Regions from separate parts of the Homo sapiens genome. Here region 2 is linked to region 1. Evidence: promoter capture Hi-C in 16 types of primary human blood cells and fetal thymus (Javierre and others, 2016). All regions are on one chromosome and are shown on one strand. The core of a region is centred on a gene start or on the middle of the fragment in contact, and the rest is flanking DNA. Distances in the headings are between cores, read along the strand shown.

The links. Contacts are between HindIII fragments. The CHiCAGO score rates a contact against its expected background, and 5 or more counts as called.
Region 2: a fragment that was not itself captured here is called in contact with the fragment with the promoter of LDLRAD2 in region 1 in 1 of 17 cell types (erythroblasts); the score reaches 5.9 in erythroblasts.

The regions. Positions count from the first base shown.
Region 1 is chr1:21,806,445-21,813,869 of GRCh38, reverse strand. LDLRAD2 (low density lipoprotein receptor class A domain containing 2) reads right to left here and starts at 1,605. Exons shown (of 5, transcript NM_001013693.3): 1 at 1,334-1,605. The coding sequence starts at 1,418. RefSeq lists an enhancer at 1,520-1,814 and a silencer at 2,969-3,119. The HindIII fragment of the contact is 31,080 bases long and covers 1-2,440 here.
Region 2 is chr1:21,960,798-21,967,450 of GRCh38, reverse strand. No RefSeq gene overlaps it. Among named protein-coding and RNA genes, the nearest start is that of CELA3B, 13 kb to the left of the region's middle. RefSeq lists a silencer at 3,140-3,407 and an enhancer at 4,892-5,555. The HindIII fragment of the contact is 2,663 bases long and covers 2,371-5,033 here.

The sequences.
Region 1 (7,425 bases), core at 356-2,855:
GGGAGAGCTGTGTGATAAGGAGCCCCTTTTCTTCCTGCTTTTGAAAGCTGCTGACTGAGGATGAGGATGGGATGTCCAGAGCTGCAGCAGCCATTTTGCAAAGATGAGGTCAGAGCATTTCAGAGGAACAGTGACATTGTTGAGCCGTTGAGTTAACCATCTCTGGAATCACCTATGACCACTCTTAACTGAAATAGCAAATATCCTACCATTTAAGCCCCATTTAGTTTGTTATCTGTTACTTACAGCCCAAAACATCCTCACTGGTACAGGGTTGTTGTGAGGATTAAATGAGAAGATGTGCAAGTACTCAAAGTAGCCCTGATTTCTGTAAGCACAGAGAGGAAAGAGGAGGTGGGTTTTCTGGTGCAAGATAGGGACCAGTGGGTACTTGAGGACCAGCCAGGATGTGGGTCTTTGAGGAAAAAATCCTTCATCAGAGCTCAGGATGTGGGAGCACTTTCCAATATTTGGTATTTCTCTGCTAAAGCCAGAGCCTACCCTGAAGGTACACAGGGCAGGCATGGAGTTTAGAGAGTAAGGGAATTGGGCACCCTTTTTTTTTTTTATTTCTTTGAGACGGAGTCTCTCTCTGTTGCCAGGCTGGAGTGCAGTGGCGCAATCTCGGCTCACTGCAGCCTCCGACTCCCTGGTTCAAGCGATTCTCCTGCCTCAGCCTCCCAAGTAGCTGGGATTACAGGCACATGCCACCATGCCCAGCTAATTTTTGTATTTTTAGTAGAGATGTGGTTTCACCATGTTGGCCAGGATGGTCTTGATCTCGTGACCTCATGATCCGCCCGCCTCGGCATCACAGAGTGCTGGGATTACAGGCGTGAGCCACTGCGCCCAGCCGGGAATTTGGCACCTTTTATGTGCCAGGTATTATGAAGTGCCTTGCATGACTTATCTCATCTTATATGCCAATAATCATAGTCCCTTAAGGGGCAAGGGCCTATTATTTTCATTTTACTGCCAAAGAAATTCAGAGAGTTGAAACAATGATCTCAAAGGTACAAACATAAGAAGTGGCAGAGTGTGTAAATGCAGCTTCTCTGAATCCGAAGCCTACAGAGTTTTGCAAAGCAGGCCCTGAGGGCTGTCCTGCCCACTCCCAGACTCCTGCTTCTAGGTGACTGGCAGATCCAAGCCTTCCAGAAGGCTTTGGGTTGGATTTGGGGATGCCAAGCAAGACCAGACACAGTTTCCCAGCCTCCCCCAGCTCAAAAGGTCTCAGCCCAGCAGGATGAGTGCTGACTGGGGAAACATAGTCTCTAAGGATGGTGGGGGCCCAAGTCTTCTGGGTGCCCCAACCAAGCCCCCTGATACTTACCTGTCTCCAAAGCAGTTGCAGTCAGGGCGGCTGCCCCCAGCAAGAGCAACCTTTGGGGCAACTGCAGAAGACAACAAGCCTCCATCCAGGCTCTGCTGTGCCCAGCAATGGGGCAGACCCACAGAATCTTCAGCTTGGGGTCTCTGGGGAGACTGGAGTATGGGGCCTGGTCAGGCCAGCAGGGAGGCTGGTGGGACACAAGGAGAAGGGGGAGGCAAGTCTTCACTATGATCTTAGTGCTTTGCCTTCCAGATCCTCTTCATTTGGTTCAGAACTGTGTCCAGGGGTTGCCATGGAGATTTGGAGCAAGGGCTAGAGCCTGGGGAGAGGAGGCAGGGAGGAGATCTGCTCCCCTTCTGCCAGACAGGAACCAGGAAACTCAGATCCGGTTCAGCCATAGGGCTTCTGGGAGGAGGACCCACAGGAAGCCAGATCTGCTACCTTCCTAGATCAGCTGGCCCCTTAGGGACTGAGCTTGAGGGAGGTCCAGGACACCAAAGGAGCCTCTCTGAGGGCCTAGAGAGCAGCAGGCAGAGAAGGAGCACTGGACCAGGAGTCTGCTGTATTACTAACAAGCCATTCCTGCCTCAGGGCCTTTGCACTCATAGATCCCTCTGTCTGGAGTGTTGTCCCCCCATAGCAGTGCACGGCTGACTTCTTCAGGTCATCAGGTTGTGGCTCACATGTTACCTCCACAGACCACACTCTCCTGACCACCTCTCCAACTAAATTAACACTCTCTCTCTTTGTCACTCAATCACATCTCAAATGTATCATCCCAGCACTGTCTGGAATTATTTTGCCTATTCATTTCTTCTTGTATATATTGTCCACTGGCCTCCACTAAAATTATATTCCATGAGTATCTTGTTTACCTCTGAACCCTTATGTCATAGCACAGTCACTGGCACAAGGCAGGCGCCCAGGAAATAATGAAAGAATAAGTGTGTGGCATTGAACAAATGACCCCTTTTTCTGGATTTTACTTTCCCATGTGTAAAATAAATACCCTGGACTAATTCAGACTTTTTCAAAACGTGTTATTAGTAGAACAATTTTTTTTCAAAAGGTATGTTACAAGGAACCTTTATCTATAAAACTGAAGCTTTTCAAGCCCTGGCATCCTTCTCTGGAAAATGGGATAATGATTAATTCCAACCACATAGTTGCATTGTAAGAATTAAGTAACTTGGCCTGGCTTGGTGGCTCATGCCTGTAATCCCAGCACTTTGGGAGGCAGAGGTGGGTGGATCACAAGGTCAGGAGTTCAAGGCCAGCCTGGCCAACATAGTGAAACCCCATCTCTACTAAAAATACAAAAAAAATTAGCCGGGCATGGTGGTGCATTCCTGTAGTCCCAGCTACTCAGGAGGCTGAGGCAGGAGAATCGCTTGAATCCGGGAGGTGGAGGTTGCAGTGAGCTGAGATTGTGCCACTGCACTCCAGCTTGAGCAACAGAGTGAGACTTCATCTCAAAAAAAAAAAAAAAAAAAGAATTAAGTAACTTAATACAAGTGGGGTACTTGGAATAGTGTCTATCATGTAGTAAAGTAACCAATGTATTTCAGCTTGAATGATGATCATTAATGTCATCGTTATTATTTAAGCAGATGTTTCAAGTGTGGGGGAGGGGAGGAGCTAAGCAGCCCAAATTGGCAGTGCCTGAGACACCACCTCAAAATCCCAGGAATCCATGAGAAGGTTAAGACCTCTGGACCTGGCCGGGCACAGTGGCTCACACCTGTAATCCCATCACGTTGGGAGGCCAAGGCAGGCGATCACCTGAGGTTGGGAATTCGAGAGCAGCCTGGCCAGCATGGTGAAACCCCATCTCTACTATAAATACAAATATTAGCCGGGCGTTGTGGCACAGAGGCTGAGGCACAATAATCGCTTGAACCCGGGAGGCGGAGATTGCAGTGAGCCGAGATTGCACCACTGCACTCCAACCTGGGCGATAAAATAAAAAAAAAAAAAAACCCAAAACAAACACCTCTGGACCTATTATTCCCTAACAGCTCTCCCTCCTGGAGCGGTCATTTGATGCAACCTTGATTTCCTACAGTGTATGATGTCCAAATCTGTACCTTGGGGAACTCCAAAAAGACTCAAATCTTCCCTCAGCAAGAATGAATTTATCATGAAGCCCACTGAAGCTTAAACTTCAGAACTCATCACCTGCATGGGATTATATGGTTTTTGTTTTGTTTTGTTTTTGTTTTTGTTTTTGTTTTGAGACTGAGTCTTGCTCTGTCGCCCAGGCTGCAGTGCAGTGGCGCAATCTTGGTTTGTTGCAAGCTCCGCCTCCCGGGTTCACGCCATTCTCCTGCCTCAGCCTCCCAAGTAGCTGGGATTACAGGCACCCGCCATCACGCCCGGCTAATTTTTTGTATTTTTAGTACAGATGGGGTTTCACCGTGTTAGCCAGACTGGTCTTGATCTCCTGACCTTGTGATCCACCCACCTCAGCCTCCCAAAGTGCTAGGATTACAGGCGTGAGCCACCGCGCCCGACCTTTTGTTTGTTTTTTTTTTTTTTTGAGATGGAGTCTCACTCTGTTGCCCAGGCTGGAGTGCAGTGGCATGATCTCAGCTAACTGCAACCTCCCAGGCTGGAGTGCAGTGGCATGATATCAGCTCACTGCAACCTCTGCTTCCCGGGTTCAAGAGATTCTCCTGCCTCAGCTTCCCGAGTAGCTGGAACTACAGGTGTGTGCCACCACACCCAGCTAATTTTTTATTTTTAGTAGAGATGGGGGTTTCACCATGTTGGTCAGGCTGGTCTCGAACTCCTGACCTCAGGTGATCCGCCCACCTCGGCGTCCCAGAGTGCTGGGATTACCGGAGTGAGCCACCGCGCCCGGCCGGGATTATATGTCTTCATAAAATTTGCAAAAGTAAGAATGGTTATAAACTTTCAGTTTTGCAAGATGAAAATGTTTTAGAGATCTGTTGCACAGTACTGTGAAAATACTTAACACTACTGAACTGTACACTTAGAATGGCTAAGACTGGCCAGGTGCAAGGCTCACACCTTTAATCTCAACACTTTGGGAGCCTGAGGTGAGAGGATCGCTTGAAACCAGGAGTTCAAGACCAACCTGGGCCTGTAATCCCAGCACTTTGCCTGAGGTCAGGAGTTCGACAGCAGCCTGGCCAACATGGTGAAGCCCAATCTCTACAAAAAAATACAAAAAATTAGCCAGGCGTGGTGGCACACACCTGTAATCCCAGCTACTCGGCAGGCTGAGGCAGGAGAATCTCTTGAACCCAGGAGGCAGAAGTTGCAGTGAGCCGAGATCGAGCCACTGCACTCCAGCCTGGGCGACAGAGTGAGACTCCGCCTCAAAAACAAAAACAAAAAAGACCAACCTGGCAACATAGCGAAACCCTGTCTCTACAAAAAATTAAAGTTAAAATTAAAAAATTAGGTGGTGCCTACACTCTTAGCTATACTACAGCTACTCAGGAGGCTAAGGCAGAAGGATCACTTGAGCCCAGAAGCTTGAGGTTACAGTGAGCTATGATCATGACACTGCACTCCAGCCTAGGCAACAGAGCCGATCCATCTCAGAAAAAAATGGTTAAGATAGTAAGCTCTGTTATGTATTTTCTTGCCATAATTTTTTAAAATTTTGCAAACATGAGGGGTACATGTTCTCAGGACCTCTTGATACTGTGCCTCAAGCCAAATAAAATTTTTAAAAAATACAAATAGGGTTGGGAGTGGTGGCTTACGCCTGTAATCCCAGGACTTTGGGAGGCCAAGGTGAGTGGATCACCTGAGATCAGGAATTCAAAACCAGCCTGGCCAAACTGGTGAAAACCTATCTCTACTAAAAATACAAAAATTAGCTGGGCGTGGCCAGGCGCGGTGGCTCACGCCTGTAATCCCAGAACTTTGGGAAGCCGAGGCAGGTGGATTGCCTGAGGTCAGGAGTTCAAGACCAGCCTGACCAATATGGTGAAACCTCATCTCTACTAAAAATACAAAAATTAGCCGGGCGTGGTGGTGGGCGCCTGTAATCCCAGATACTCGGGAGGCTGAGGCAGCAGAATTGCTTGAACCCGGGAGGCGGAGGTTGCAGTAAACTGAGACTGAGCCATTGCACTCCCACCTGGGTGATATAGCGAGACTCTGTCTCAAAAACAATTAATTAATTAAATAAAAAATTAAAAAAATAAAAATAGGCCATGTGCAGTGGCTCACCCCTGTAACCCCTGTAACACCCTGTAAACCCAGCACTTTGGGAGGCCAAGACAGGCAGACCACCTGAGGTCAGGAGTTTGAGGCCAGCCTGGCCAACATGGTAAAACCCCATCTCTACTAAAAATACAAAAATTAGCAGGTGTGGTGGTATGTGCCTGGATTCCCAGCTACCTGGGAAGCTGAGGCAGGAGAATTGCTTGAATCCAGGAGGCGGAGGTTGCAGTGAGCTGAGGTTGTGCCATTGCACTCCAGCCTGGGCGACAGAGTGAGACTGTCTCAAAAAAGTAAAAATAAATAAATTAAAATAAAAATTTTGCAAACATAAGATATTTTAACCACAGTTAGTTCAGACTTTTTTCTCTTTCCACTCCCAACCTCTCCTTCATCACACCTCGCTTCATATCAGGTGGCCACAGGTGTTTTGAAATCTGGCTAGGGAGAGGCTGATTTGGGTTTAGGGCTGGGGGTGAGTATATTTATGGGATTCTGGCCCCTTGCGGGTATAGTTATATTACTCCTAGGTGCCCCAGATGGCATTCAGGAATATTCCTAATGCCATTGTTCTGTCTCCCTGAGTGTTGTGATCTGAAGGTGCTGACTCAGAGAATATATGATGCCCAGCCCCAGGAGTACAAGGGCATTGTAAAAGAAATAAAATTTGAAATGCACGAAGTCAGAAATAGTGTGTGGAAAATCCTTCCAAATACACAGCTCACATGAGTAAGATATTTTATAGCAGTTGCTCCAAATTTAACAACAATCATTGAGTTAAATAATCTTACCAACAATGAATTACAAAACTGAAGGAAAAAAATTCCTAAACTATCACTAATAAAAAACTAATTTTGGGCTGGGCACAGTGGCTCACGCCTGTAATCCCAGTACTATGAGAGGCCGAGGCGGGCGGATCACGAGGTCAGGAGATCGAGATCATCCTGGCTAACACGGTGAAACCCTGTCTCCACTAAAAATAAAAAAAATTCTCCAGGTGTGGTGGCGGGCGCCTGTAGTCCCAGCTACTCAGAAGGCTGAGGCAGGAGAATGGCGTGAGCCTGGGAGGCAGAACTTGCAGTGAGCCAAGATCGCGCCACTGCACTCCAGCCTGGGCGACAGAGCGAGACTCCGTCTCAAAAAACAAAAAAAAACAAAAACAAAAACACACAAAAAAACTAATTTTGATCAATCATGGCAGAGGAAAGACTGAATTATCTTTCCAGTCCTGCTATAAAAATATCCTGGCCAGGCGCGGTGGCTAACACCTATAATCCCAGCACTTTGGGAGGCCAAGGCGAGCGGATCACGAGGTCAGGAGTTTGAAACCAGCCTGGCCAACACGATGAAACCCTGTCTCTACTAAAAATACAAAAAAAATATCTGGGTGTGGTGGCAGGTGCCTGTAATCCCAGCAACTCGGGAAGCTGAGGCAGGAGAATCGTTTGAACCCAGGAGACGGAAGCTGCAGTGAGCCGAGATCACGCCATTGCACTCCAGCCTGAGCAACAGGGCAAGACTCGCTCTCAAAAACAAAAACAAAAACAATCCTACTGCCCAGGCACAGTGGTTCATGCTTGTAATCCCAGCACTTTGGGAGGTGGAAGTGGGAGGATCGCTTGAGGCTGGGAGTTCGGGACCAACCTGGGCAACAGAGTGACCAAACCCCATCTCTACAAAAAACATAAAAATTAACCAAGCGTGGTGGTATGCATCTGTAGTCCCAGCTCCTTGGGAGGCTGCAGCAGGAAGGTTGCTTGAGCCCAGGAGCTCAAGGCTGCAGTGAGCTATGATCGTTCCACTGCACTCCACCCTGGGCAACAGAGCAAGACTCCATCTAGCAAAAAAAAAAATAGAGAAAATACCATACAGTTGCTGTCACATAAAGAATC
Region 2 (6,653 bases), core at 2,453-4,952, 150 kb before region 1:
TGGTATTTTAGTGTGGAAATACATCAAAGCATGACTGTAACTGTCTCAAAAGCGGATATTGTGATGTGGTATCAGGACACCTGGACATCCTGCCATCATAGGAGTTTGCCTTGCAGGAATTACTAAACCGCTTCCTTCGCCAGAAACATCTCATGGCCGTGAGTTGTGACTGGCTAGGAGCGTGTCTTGTTAGTTTGAAGATGCAGTTCATTTTATTATTTTATTATTTTATTTTATTTTTTGGGACAGAGTGTCACTCTGTCACCCAAGCAGGAGTGTAGTGGCATGATCTCAGCTCACTGCAAACTCTGCCTCTCAGGTTCAAGCGATTCTCCTGCCTCAGCCTTCCGAGTAGCTAGAATTACAGGCGCCCGCCACCACACCCGACTAATTTTTGTATTTTTAGTAGAGAGGGCATTTCTGCATGTTGGCCAGGCTGGTCTCGACCTCCTGACCTCAGATGATCCACCCGCCTTGGCCTCCCAAAGTGCTGAGATTATAGGCGTGAGCCACTGCACCCAGCCACAGCTTATTTTAAAATGGTGTCAGCCTGACTCTCTTATTCTCTGTTTCCCTAACAGTGTCACCGTGGACCCGGGCTCTTGCCATCTTTGCACTCTGCCAACCTCAGTGTGTTGCCCGCCCCGGGCTGCCTCCTTCATCTCCCAGGAGAAGACTCTGAGGCAGGATTCGAGCGCAAGTGATTTATGTGGGAGGAGATCCCAAGAAGCATGTGTAGGGGAGTGGGGAAGTGAGACAGGGAGGAGAGGGAAGCCAGAACAGGGGACGTTCATGGACAACTGGCACCAGATCCCACTAGGGAGCTCAGAGTCAAAGCCTCAGAGCTGCTCCATCTGAGGTGAGAATGCTGCCCATGCGCCTCCATGCATGTACTCAGTGAACACCTAGTGTGCGCAGGTAAGGACTACTCACACGCACTTCTCCATAGCACCAGAGCATGCCTGTAGGCAGATAGCCTGTTGCATGGCAAGAGTGACATCATCATGAAATGAAACTGCCATGATGACCGATGTCTGACTCCAGCATACCACAGTGTTTTGCAGCAATTTTATTACTTTTTTAAGACAAAGTCTCGCTCTGTCACCCAGGCTGGAATGCAGTGGTGCAATCACTGCAGCCTTGACCCCCCCAGACTCAAGTGATCCTCCCACCTTAGCCTCCCGAGTAGCTGGGACTATAGACACACACCATCACACCTGGCTAATTAAAGAAAAAAAAAATTTGAGGCCAGGCACAGTGGCTCACGCCTGTAATCCCAGCACTTTAGGAGGCCGAGGCAGGCAGATCACCTGAGGTTGGGAGTTCGAGACCAGCCTGGCCAACATGGAGAAACTCCGTCTCTACTAAAAATACAAAATTAGCTGGGCATGGTGGCATATGCCTGCAATCCCAGCTACTTGGGAGGCTGAAGCGGGAGAATCACTTGAACCCTGGAGGCAGAGGTTGCAGTGAGCTGAGATCGCGCCATTGCACTCCAGTCTGGGCAACAAGAGCAAAACTCTGTCTCAAAAAAAAAAAAAAATTTGTACATACAGGGTGTTACTGTCACATAGTGCTGGGATTTAGGCATGAGTCACCTGCCTGACCAGCAAGTTCTTAAATTCTGCAGCAAGTTCTTAAGACAATGGCTGTAGCATAGATAACCCTTCATAAAAACGCTAATCACGATGCTGGGACGGTGGCTCACGCCTGTAATCCCAGCACTTTGGGAGGCCGAGGTGGGCAGATCATGAGATCAGGAGATCGAGACCATCCTGGCTAACACGGTGAAACCCCGACTCTACTAAAAATACAAAAAAATTAGCCGGGCATGGTGGTGGGCGCCTGTAGTCCCAGCTACTCGGGAGGCTGAGGCAGGAGAATGGCGTGAATCTGGGAGGCAGAGCTTGTAGTGAGCTAAGATCACGCCACTGCACTCTAGCCTGAGCAACAGAGCGAGACTCTGTCTCAAAAAAAAAAAAACGCTAATCACGGCCGGGGCGTTGTCTCTCACACCTGTAATCCCAGCACTTTGGTAGGCTGAGGCAGGTGGATCCTGAGGTCAAGAGATCGAGACCATCCTGGCCAACATGATGAAACCCCGTCTCCACTAAAAATACAAAATTAGCCAGGCATGGTTGTGGGCACCTGTAATCCCAGCTACTCGGGAGGCTGAGGCAGGAGAATCGCTTGAACCCGGGAGGCAGAGGTTGCAGTGAGCCGAGATTGTGTCACTGCACTCCAGCCTGGTGACAGAGTGAGATTCCATCTCAAAAAAAAAAAAAAAATGCTAATCTGGACTCCCCAGTGGTCAAGAGCTTCAGAATATCTGAGGCATGACCAGCTGCACATGTCTTTACCCTAAAAGCTTGCTATAAAAATAATGTTTTCTGGAAGGTAGGTGCAGGGGTGCACCATCTTGCAATTGCTTGACGGTGTCGCTATGGATAGATCTCAAAAGCACTTTATTGAGTAAATGAATTTGCAACTTCTGTTTGCAAGTCCCTATTTTCTTTCTGATAAACTGCACTTGTCAGCCTCTTTCTTTGGCCTCTCAGCTCCCTCGGTCTTTGGTGGTGGTTTGCATAGGCCTGCTCACCGCAGGACAATGATACACAAGCACAAACTCAGAATGTGCACCCAGGCACCCCCGTGTACAGACCCCTCCCGTGTACAGCACTGGTGCACACACATCCATGATGCACACACACATTCCAGAGCACCCATCCCGTCCCCCCTTCCCAGTACAACAAACATACATCTGTCACTGCTTCTTACTCTGGCCTTTGGCTTGGGCCTGACAAAGCCTAGGGCATTAGGCCGGGCACAGTGGCTCACACCTGTCATCCCAGCACTTTGGGAGGCTGAGATGGGTGGATCACTTTTGAGACCTGCCTAGCCAATATGGTGAAACCCCATCTCTGCTAAAAAATACAAAAATTAGCCAGGCATGGTGGCACACACCTGTAGTCCCAGCTACTGGGGAGGCTGAAGCAGGAGAATCACTTGAACCCGGGAGGCGGAGGTTGCAGTGAGCCAAGATGGAGCCACTGCACTCCAGCCTGAGCAACAGAGTGAGATTGGTCTCAAAAAAAAAACCAAACAACAACAAACAAAAGGGTAGGGCACTAAACATTTATGACAAGGACTGCACTCTTAGAAACTCCTAGAATGGAACTGCTGGCAGAAGTTGCAGTGCACCAGGAGTTTGTGGGGAGCCAGGGCAGCACCTTCCTAGGGTCACACTTGGACTCTCCAGCCTAGGATGCAACATCCCAAGTTACCAGCAAGGGGCGCCCGAGAGCCATGATTGCCTCCAGGTGTTTTCTAGGAAGTTGCTAGGTGTGAGGGTGTGTTTGTCTCTGGGTGCGTCTGAGGGACAGGGCAGATCTCAGAGCCTCCTCTTAGGGGTTGAGTTGAGTGTGGTGGACGCACTCACCACCAATTCTGGGGACTGCCTCACTCAGGTTCCAATGCCCTGGCACAGAGCTGGTGCTCAGTTTGTGTTAGATGAGTGGATGAATTAACAAGTGAATGAATGGATGACTGGGGAATGAGGAGATAGGACAGAACTCAAGAGAAAGAAGGTAAAAAGAGAAGGATGGACCCCAGAGATCAGAGGGGAGCTGGAAGAAAGAGAAATGCAGGGAATGGCAGGGAGGAGTCAAGGGGTCGATGAGTGATTTGGGGGCAGGGGCTCAGTCGGCCAGCCTCCAAGCCTTGGCCCAAATGTCTCCCTCCCAGATGCCTCCCACTGCTGCCCTCTTCAATATTCATCTTTCTAGGCTGGTTGGGACTGTCACCTCCCCCAGGAAGCCCTCCCTGAGCACCTCTCCGTTGGGACCCGTCCTTCCTGCCTTTGTGCTTCCACAGCTCTGCGGCATCGTACCAGGGACCCTCTGCTCTGGTTGAAATGTGGGAAGTTGTATCAGACAGACGTAGATTTGGTTTGAATTCCTGTTCAACCATAATTGTGTGATCTTTTTCAAGACACCTAACCTCTCTCTGTGTTTTTTTTTTTTTTTTTTTTTTTTGAGACGGAGTCTCGCTCTGTCACCCAGGCTGTAGTGCAGTGGCACAATCTCAGTTCACTGCAACCTCTGCCTCCCAGGTTCAAGCGATTCTCCTGCCTCAGCCTCCCAAGTAGCTGAGATTACAGATATGCACCACCATGCCCAGCTAATTTTTGTATTTTTATTAGAGATGGGGGTGTCACCATGTTGGCCAGGCTGGTCTCGAACTCCTGGCCTCAAGTGATCCACCTACCTCAGTCTCCCAAAGTGCTGGGATTACACGTGTGAGCCACTGCACCCAGACTGAGACGCTTAACCTCTCTGTGCCTCAGTTTCTTCACCTAGGGTAACACCAATAGCTCCCTCACAAGGTTTCTGTGAGAATTCAAGGAGATAAAGCACTGAACACTGGGCTTGGCCCATAGGAAACACTGAACACAGGGCAGCAATGATTGCTTTCCTGTCCCAGAGAGTCCCAATCTTAAGTGCTCCGTCCCATTGTCAAGTCGTTTGCTGTAGTTTGGGCTCATAACATATTGTCATCAGAGCCTGTAGTGAATACCCCGGCTCAATGAATATGTGCTCCCTGATAACACTCATCTGTAATTCATTTTTTTTTGACATGTATGAGAATATTCATTTCAGTGTTGCTTGAAATAATGAAACATAATTGGAAACAACTTAAAAGTATGCATATTGACAGGAGAATGGATGAATTGGGTATATATAGAATGCAATGTTAAGCAGTGAAAATGATTAAATTAGAGTCATATGTGTCGCTATGGATAGATCTCAGAAGCATTTTATTGAGTAAAAAAGCAAATTACAGAATAATGCATTCAGTATAATGTCATAGTATGTAAAACATTTGAATCCATGCAGACCAATGCTATGCCATATACAGCAATGTGTAGGAATAGAATAAATACACGTAGCAAAGATAATCAGAGATTAGATGGTGCCACCCTCCAAGAAGAAGGGGTGTGAAGTTGGCCAGGGCTTCAGCTGTATCTGGAAGCTTAACTTGTTTTGAGTTCCTTGAATATGGTAAAGGAAGAGAATTCATGTGAGACCTTCTCTATTTTAATCCCTAAGCGTGAAATAGGATGAAGCAACTGAGGCTCAGGGAGGCGTGGCAAAGTGCCCATGCTTTCCCAGACACTGAGAAGTAGAGGTGGGAACTGAACCCAGAGCTCCTGACCCCAGCACCTTCCCTGCCAGGGCAGGCTGCTTGGAACTGCTGGTGGTGGTTTCAGAGGCAAAGACTGTCCCCAAGTTGCTACAGCAGAGCAGCTCTGCCAGGCTGAGCAAGAAGGGTGGGCTTTTTGGTCCACTGGGTCCAGGCAGGGCTCAGCCCATGCCCGGTAGGAGCTTGGGTCCAGGCCAAGCCCAAGGAAGGTTTCCGGCCTTAAGGTCTGTTTCCTGGCACTCTCCTGGTGGAGTCAGAGGTCAGGGCTGGAGCCAGGCTTGGGCAGGGTCTCCACTGCAGGAAGTGGAGGCCTCTGAGCCTCTGAGCCTCCAATCCAGTTACCCTTTACTCCTGCCACCTCCCTCACCTCTCAGGGCATCCAGGGGCACAGGCAGGAGGAGGTGCATGAGTGGGCACCAGTCTCAAGGAGATCCAAGGCTTCCTGTTCCTGTCCAGGAACCCCAAACCCTTCAGGGGCAGAGGTGTTCTGAGACACAGGCTGGCAATCATTCATCTGTCCTCTCCTCCTTCCATGAACCCACAAAGTGCCAGGGCCTGTACCAGGCTCTGGGGAGACAGCCCCTACCCTCTAGGGCCTCAGTGGCTGGTGGGAGGAGATTTGATATGTAAATAAACAGACATCTAGTAGATAACACTTGTGTGGATTGAAGTCAATGAAAATTATCTAATTAAGTATGAGCTCTGGAAAGGCCAGTAGAGACTGGCTAGTGTGGCCCAGAGAAAGGCTGGGACTTGTCAATGTCATAGAGTGGTTCAACGGCATAGCACTGACAATAGAACCCAGGACTCCAGACGCAAGCCAGGGCTCTTTCTGCTGCATCCTACCCCTGCATTTTCTATTCAAGTGTATCACTGTGAAAAAATTCAAGTGAACAGAAAAATTTATTTTGTTTTGTTTTGTTTTTTTTATTTGAGATGGAGTCTTGCTCTGTCGCCCAGGCTGGAGTGCAGTGGCGCGATCTCGGCTCACTCACTGCAAGCTCCGCCTCCTGGGTTCACGCCATTCTCCTGCCTCAGCCTCCCAATAGCTGAGACTACAGGCGCCCGCCACCACGCCCGGCTAATTTTTTGTATTTTTAGTAGAGACGAGGTTTCACCATGTTAGCCAGGATGGTCTCAATCTCCTGACCTTGTGATCCGCCCACCTTGGCCTCCCAAAGTGCTGGGATTACAGGCGTGAGCCACCACGTCCGGCCGTGAACAGAAAAATTTAAACAGAACCGTGCCTCTTGGGAAGCCACCAGCAGGCTTTGTCACATCCTCTCAGTGATCATGGCTGGTGCCTTCCCACTCTGAACAAGATGCTCTCCTTGTTTCCTGGGACACATTTCATTTTGCGGGTAGGAACTTCTTTCATTAATTTTATTACTATTATTTTTTTTTTCTCACCCAGGCTGGAGTGCAGTGGTGCGATCTCAGCTCACTGCAGC